Linked DNA regions of Homo sapiens: region 2 is linked to region 1. The links are contacts of gene promoters, found by promoter capture Hi-C in human tissues and cell types (Jung and others, 2019). All regions are on one chromosome and are shown on one strand. The core of a region is centred on a gene start or on the middle of the fragment in contact, and the rest is flanking DNA. Distances in the headings are between cores, read along the strand shown. Region 1 holds the start of PSMD1 (proteasome 26S subunit, non-ATPase 1). Region 2 has its middle 35 kb from the start of LINC01907.

The links. The method cuts DNA at HindIII sites, captures the fragments that hold promoters and counts their contacts. A contact is called where the count stands out against the background at its distance.
Region 2: a fragment that was not itself captured here is called in contact with the fragment with the promoter of PSMD1 in region 1 in 1 of the 25 tissues and cell types used here (bladder).

What each region holds. Positions count from the first base shown.
Region 1 is chr2:231,054,467-231,058,205 of GRCh38, reverse strand. It overlaps PSMD1 (proteasome 26S subunit, non-ATPase 1), which reads right to left and starts at 1,339. Exons shown (of 25, transcript NM_002807.4): 1 at 1,165-1,339. The coding sequence starts at 1,180. It overlaps LOC112268432 (a long non-coding RNA gene), which reads left to right and starts at 460. Exons shown (of 2, transcript XR_002959456.2): 1 at 460-869. RefSeq lists a silencer at 1,249-1,438. The HindIII fragment of the contact is 12,128 bases long and covers 1-3,739 here.
Region 2 is chr2:230,663,343-230,666,856 of GRCh38, reverse strand. No RefSeq gene overlaps it. Among named protein-coding and RNA genes, the nearest start is that of LINC01907, 35 kb to the left of the region's middle. RefSeq lists enhancers at 1-439, 3,127-3,316. The HindIII fragment of the contact is 5,990 bases long and covers 1-3,514 here.

The DNA.
Region 1 (3,739 bases), core at 90-2,589:
CTGAGTGTTTATTTGATCTTTACAAAGCTCTGACTGGAAAAACTTCCTGATACTGAACTAAAATTCATCTCGCGATCACTTGTATCTCTTGGGGACAAAAAGTCTTATTTCAGGTACAAGTGACAGCTCTTCAAATGTTTGAAAGTAACTACGTCTCCCAGTATCTCCAACGATCTCCTTAACCAATCCTCATAAAAATAAAGTTTTGATCGCCTTACCATTCAGATTACTGTCTTCTGCTCACCAGTTTGTTTACAATAAAATGCTTTCTTTGTGGGTCAAACACAGAGTAAGAAAATGAGAAAAGGGTATGTAAATAGGCAACGGAAAAAAGCACCAAGGCTCTGGACAGCTATATGCAAGTCAATCTGTAACGGGGAGCTTAAGTCTCCAATTGAAACTTGATCTCTGTAACTTACTCCATTGCAAATGTCACTACGTGAATCTACCTATGCAATGGTTTGCGCGTATGAAACCTGCTCCGCAGATCCATCCATTCTTTCTTGAATGTACAGTCAACAGACTGAGCACATAACCTCGAAAGGGTATAAGTAGGCTCTCAGTATAAAGGTATCTCCAGGGCGTCTTTAGGGTCTTCGCCGAACCCAAAAGTTCTCTGGGTGTTTTGAATGAACACCCTTGGATCGGACCCAGAAATGACCCACCTCAAACCTAATTTCGGGTTTCATTCTAAGGCGAATGGAGCTCGGCCACGTCCAGAAACACTTCTGTAGCAGTTAGGCTGCCCGATCAGGGGGGTTTGCCTTACTGTTCAATGGCACAGGGGCCCATCCCACCCCGGCCCCCTGCGGGCAAGAACTGGGGCTGGACGACCTCACACGGCCAAGAATGGGAGGCACAGAAAAAAGGTAAGCCCTTCTGGGGTCAGGGGAAGGCCCAGGAAGCCCCTCGGGTCCTGGCGCTGGGGTGTGATTGGGGAGGGATGCCGAGGCGGTCGACCCGGCTCGATTCCCTCAAGCCAGAGAAGCACGCAGTGACCTGATCAGACTCCCAGCCCCCCGGCCCGGGGGTGGGCCCTGGGCAGCAAGAAGCTGCCCAGGCCGGCGTTCCGCCGGGAGGCGCCCAGTCACCGGCCCTGACTCAGCTAAAAGCCGGCGCGGCGGCGGCTCCTCCCTCCAGGCGCTGGCTACGGGCCGCACTCACCGGCCGAGGTGATCATGGCTGCGCCCCTCACTCGCCCGTCGGCTCGCTCGCCGTTCCAGCTGCGCAGTGTATCTGTCAGCTCAGGGGCCGCTCAGTTCACCGCGCCTCCTTGCTCCCCGGGTGCGCTGCTCAGTCAGTCGCCTCCTCAGGCCGCCGGCTCGCTTCTCGCCAGGACCCCGCCCGCCCAGGGGCTGCCCGCCACCCCGCCTGCCGCCCGGCGCGAATTCTCCCCTGGCCTGCGTCTTCTGCGCGGCGGTATACTCCCCAGCCCTCGCGGAAGGGTACACAGAGAACACCATTGTTTTCTCTAAACCTCCTCGAGGTCAGGAGTCCCGCGCAACGGAACACTGGTCTGCACCTGAGGTCAGGCATTAGAATGGCCAGCCCTGCAAAGAGAGGACCCCCACCATCACCCGCCATTGCTGAGAGAAAGGGTGTTGAGGGGAGGTGCGAGCATTGCGCGCAGTGCCACCTACTGGTGGGAGGTCTCGCTGCAACACATCTCCCACCAGATAATGCTTAGGGAATTGGGGCTGCCGCAAACAGCGTTTTTTTTTGTTTTTTGTTTTTTTTCCCAGAAAAGTGGCTTTCAATTGTTTTCTAAAGCAAAACCTATCATAAAAAAAAGAAAATCCCCATAGAAGTGCTTTATTATCATAATGAATCCACAAGTAATCATTGGCTTATTATAAAGTTGAACAATGAAGGTTTTTACTTACTTTTGGAAAAATGTCCAGTGTTGTCAATATATTAAAATGTGCAGTAGTTATATGGCGAAAGCCTTTCCAAGGGAGAAAAAATGTCTTCCATTCTTTCCTTCTATCTGCCCAGGTCCTCTTTCCCCCGACGGCAGTGGGTTCTTCGTTTCTAATACATCTTCAGAAATTTGAAATGGCAGTTGCAATGGCCATTTGCAGTCTTATGCTAGCTTCAAGAAGTCAATTTATTTCAAGAGTCAGTACTGAGAAAGTCTTGACAAGGAATAGGGCAAACGGTAGCATTTTTTTCAGCCACCGGCCTTGCACTATCAAGCTAAACTCTTCAATCGCACAGCGATGGCGAGTTCATTTCTACGGCCTTCTACGTAACCTAGGGGCACAATCAATGTCTTGTGGTTGCCAGTGAATTAAATGTGCTTGATAACACATTTTGTTGTATCTGTGACTTTTTTTGTTTAAATTAGAATTCTTAAACTGTGGTTGTTTAAAATATATTAAATATAATTATTGAACATTTTTGAAGAGCCTGTGGCTCAGATTGAAAGGCAGGGCTCGAGAAGATGTGCATGCAAAGTAAACAGATTACTTGGGGTGTCATTCTACAGAGGTACTTCTTTTTTTTTTTTTTTGAGATGGAGTGTCCCTCTGCCACCCAGGCTGTAGGGCAATGGCGCGATCTCGGCTCACTGCAACCTCCGCCTCCTGGGTTCAAGCGATTCTCCTGCTCAGTCTCCCAAGTAGCTGGGACTACAGGTGTATGCCACCACACCCGGCTAATTTTTGTATTTTTAGTAGAGACAGGGTTTCACCATGTTAGCTAGGATGGTCTCGATCTCCTGACCTCATGATCCGCCCGCCTCGGCCTCCCAAAATGCTGGGATTAAAGATGTGAGTCACTGCACCTGGCTCTACAGAGGCACTTCTACCAAGCCCTCACATGAAGACAGTTGTATTCCCCAAACCCCTAGAGGAGTCACAAACAAATGCCAACAGGTAATGAAAATGAGTAAAGCAGGACCAGCGAAAGAAAATACAAGCTCCACAGGATGGTGAATGGCAACTAACAGTGTCAAGGAGGCACTAGGGGGTGGTGGGGACAGTGATGAAGAGTGAATTCCTGGCCGGGCGCGGTGGCTTACACCTGTAATCCCAGCACTTTGGGAGGCCGAGGTGGGCGGATCACCTGAGGTCAGGAGTTCGAGACCAAAGCCTGGCCAACATGATGAAACCCCGTCTCTACTAAAAACAAAAATTAGCCAGGTGTGGTGGCGGGCACTCGTAGTCCCAGCTACTCAGAAGGCTGAGGCAGAAGAATCGCTTGAACCCAGGAGGTGGAGGTTGCAGTGAGCCAAGATCACACCATTGCACTCCAGCCTGGCGACAGAGTGAGACTCCGTCTAAAAAGAAAAAAAAAAAAAGTGAGTGCCCCATCTAAAGAGAGCAACTGCTAAACAGAGCAACTGCTACTCAGTTCCTGCCAAGAATGCAGGGTGACTGTTGGAAGACATGTTTTTTCTAAGAGAAGCCAGAAATCAGAATTTCATGCAACATCTCCAGAATTTTACATGTTGGCTACTAATTCAACATGTTTTAAAACAGAGAGGTGGTCAACATGCCACCTCTGCTCTTCAAGGAGAAGTCATTCTGTATGAGAGGACAATCCTGTCTTCCACTTGGATGCTGTGTGTGTCATTGCCACAACCCCATGTGAGCCTCACGTGAACCTGTGAGATGGGCAAAAGGTAAGTAGCTTGGACACAGACATCAGACTTCTCCCCCCGGGAGGATTCTGTTCTCCCTCCTGAGTGACTGGCCCATGCCTGTGGCTTCTCCCTCTCCAGTCCATTCTGCATTCT
Region 2 (3,514 bases), core at 517-3,016, 390 kb after region 1:
ATCCAGGAGGTGACCAGAGACCTGGGGGTGGGAGACAGGTGGGGCACCTGGGCTGGTACCAGGTGGCCAGCCTTGGCAGAGATCTCCCAAACTGTCGGGGACATTAGGAAACCACACCAGTGAGCTTGGGCAGCAAAGAAGCTGGGGCGACTTTGATGTACAAAAGATTAGGAGCCCTTCTGTGTGTTCAAGGCATCAGAGCCTCCTGGGTTCCGGTGGGTGAAAGGGGAGGTCCCAGTGGAGATGGAAAAGGAAATCTAGGTCAACCTTTCCAAATGACGTTGGCCTTGGAATGCGGTTGATTCAAGGGCAATAAAGAAAGTGTGTTAGGGCTGGGCGTGGTTGCTCACACCTGTAATTCCAGCACTTTGGGAGGCCGAGGTGGGTGGATCACTTGAGGTCAGGAGTTCGAGACCAGCCTGGCCAACATGGTGAAACCCCGTCTCTACCCAAAATGCAAAAATTAGCTGGGCGTAGTGGCGTGTGTCTGTAATCTTAGCTACTGGGCAGGCTGAGGCGGGGGAATTGCTTGAACCCGGGAGTCGGAGGTTGCAGATAGTGCCAAGATAGTGCCACTGCACTCCAGCCTGGGCAACAGAGTGAGACTCCATCTCAAAAAAAAAAAAAGTGTGTTATTTAATCCCCATTATACAAGTAAGGAAACTGAAGCTCGGAGCAGGTAAGGCTCCCAAGCTCACAGTGCTGGAAAGTAGCAGAGCCAAATCTCCCCCAGCCTTGGGTCACTGGAGCGGCTAGTTTCAACAAGGTCACACTGCCGCCGCCCCCACTGCAGTGGGCCGCCATGGGTCTTCTCGGTCAGCACTCACTGCCCGCTGGCTCTGCAAACCTCATTCTCAACCTGCGTTTGAACTGGAAGCTTTCGCTCTGATTCTCTCCCTGTTTCCAGGGTGGGTTTTTTTTTTTTTTTTTTTTTTTGAGATGGAGTCTCATTCTGTCACCCAGGCTGGAGTGCAGTGGTGCAATCTTGGCTCACTGCAACCTCTGCCTCCAGGGTTCAAGCAATTCTCCTTCCTCAGCCTCCCAAGTAGCTGGGATTACAGGCACCCGCTACCATGCAGGCAAATTTTTTTTTGTATTTTTAGTAGAGATGGGGTTTCACCATGTTGGCCAGGCTGGTTTTGAACTCCTGACTTCACGTGATCAGCCCACCTCGGCCTCCCAAAGTGCTAGGATTACAGGCATGAGCCACCGTGCCCGGCCTCCAGGGTGGTTTTAAGAAGGCAAGTCCGTGGGATCTGCCAAGTCATCTCATGCAGAGCGTTCAGGAAGATCATGGTCCCCCTGCCAGTTCCTGCGGTGTTCTTGAGGTCAAATAATATTCTTGTGGTTCGCTCATTCATTCATTCACTCACTCACTCAGCAAGCACTGAGGGAGTACATGAGGGACTGTGGATATGGCAGTGAACTATAGACCTGGTCCCTCCCTCCAGGAGCTTGTAGCACTTTTGTCTGGTGGCAACACGTGGTGTGGAGAAAAGAAAGCTGCTCAGCATGTTAGGGTATGCAGCAGGGTGGAGAGCTGTTGTCATTAACACAGGGAGGTCAGAGGAAGGCTCTGGTAGATGCTAGTGAAAGTCTGAAGGGTAAGGGAGTCAGCCCAGGGCTCCAGGGGGAAGGGCCTCCGAGGCAGAAGGTACCAGAAATGAAAAGGCCCTGAGTCAGGAGCACACTTCCCTGTGGCTGAAGTGATCCTGGGAGTCCACAGGAATCCATGGGAACCTGTGAGCCATCATGGAGATTTGGGAAACACGAGAGGGCTGGTCTGGCTGTGTGATGAGGGTGGTTGGGGCGGCTGGACGTGCAGGAAGGAGAGAGATGTCATGATCTACGTGAGTCGGGACAAAGGATGGACCAGGGTGGTGGCTGTGGAGGCGGGAGGAGCAGTCAGACTCTGGATGTATGTCTAAGGAGGATGAGGGCTTGGATATGGGGAGGAAGAAGGGGAGCCCTAGGTTTTTGGCATTCATCTTCTGGCAGTCTTTCCTTAACTTTCCACCACTAGGGCCAGCCTCTGAGTTCATCCTCACCAGGTTGCTGCGACAGGGAGGGCAGGCTCTGTGTCCTCATGTTTGCCTTTTGCTTTAATCCTCACTCATCTTTACTTGCTTTAGCCCATGGGCTCTGGAATGAGGGGCCCTTGGAGCCCCCCACTTCTGATCCTGAGGTGGGGGGCAGGCAGTAGAAGCTGGAAGGAGAGCCTTCCTTAGCACACAGCCCCACACCCCACTTCCCATCCTTTCTTTTGAAGAGTGGAGGGGGATCCTCTGAAAAGCAGCGATGAGGAGTGCTCCCCCATCCCCACCCCCTCTGCACTGTGCTCCAGCCAAGGCCTGAGAAAGCAGCGCAATGTCAGGGAGACCCAAGGGGTGGTGTGGCAGAGGGTGAGAGAAATGAGACAGCACCTCAGCCTGTGAAAGTGGAGGCTGCGTGGATGCCGGTGCACATAAGTGAGTGGGGAGGGGGAGGGAGAAAATCTTCCCACCACTAGACTGCCCATACCATGCAGACTCAGAGACCTGCAGCCCAGGCTCTGCCCCTCTCAGCTCTGGGCTCTCCTCCCAGTCCTGGGGGTGGCCCTGGGCCAGGGCTGTGATGCACCGCCCACCCTCACTGCACTTGAGCTCAGCTGAGAGCATATGCTGGGCACCTACCCAGTATCTAGTTTCCCCTTCTTCCTTACTAACAGCATCCTGCCTTTGGGGGGTGGCAAGGTGTCCAGCTCAACTACTTCCTTGGATCCTTTGTATGTAGTGGTGGTCATGTTGACCTAGTTCTGCCCAGTGGAATAAGAGCAGGAGTCAGTGGGTGGAAATTTACTTTTTTTTTTGTTTTATTTTTTGAGCTGGAGTTTCACTCTTGTTGCCCAGGCTGGAGTGCAATGGCGCGATCTCAGCTTACTGCAATCTCTGCCTCGTGGATTCAAGTGATTCTCCTGCCTCAGCCTCCCGAGTAGCTGGGATTACAGGCCCCCGCCACCACACCCAGCTAATTTTTTCTCTTTTTAGTAGAGATGGGGTTTTACCACGTTGGTCAGGTTGGTCTCAAACTCCTGACATCAGATGATCCACCCACCTCGGTCTCCCAAAGTCCTGGGATTATAGGCATGAGCCACCATGCCTGACTGGTGGGTGGATATTTAAAAAGAAACAGATTCAACTGGCATGCTCTTTAGCCCTTTCTCTTTGATCTTTGACTTCATCGTTTTCTCCTTCTAACTTTTTGGAAGACAGTTTGGACGCCTGGAGGTGCAGCAGCCATATTCAACCATGAGGGGAAAAGCCAGATGCTAAGTGTGGTGGAGGAGAACAGGAGGAGTCCTGATGTTGGCTGACCCCTAAGCGATGGTACCAGCCCTTGACTGCCAACTCTAAACTTCCTTTTTTGTATGAGACAAAAAAAAAAAAAAAAAAAAAAAAAAAAAAAAAAAATCCCTGTTACTCTAGTTTTTAGTTACATGCAGGTGAACACAGTCCTAATTGATACCCAGGTCATC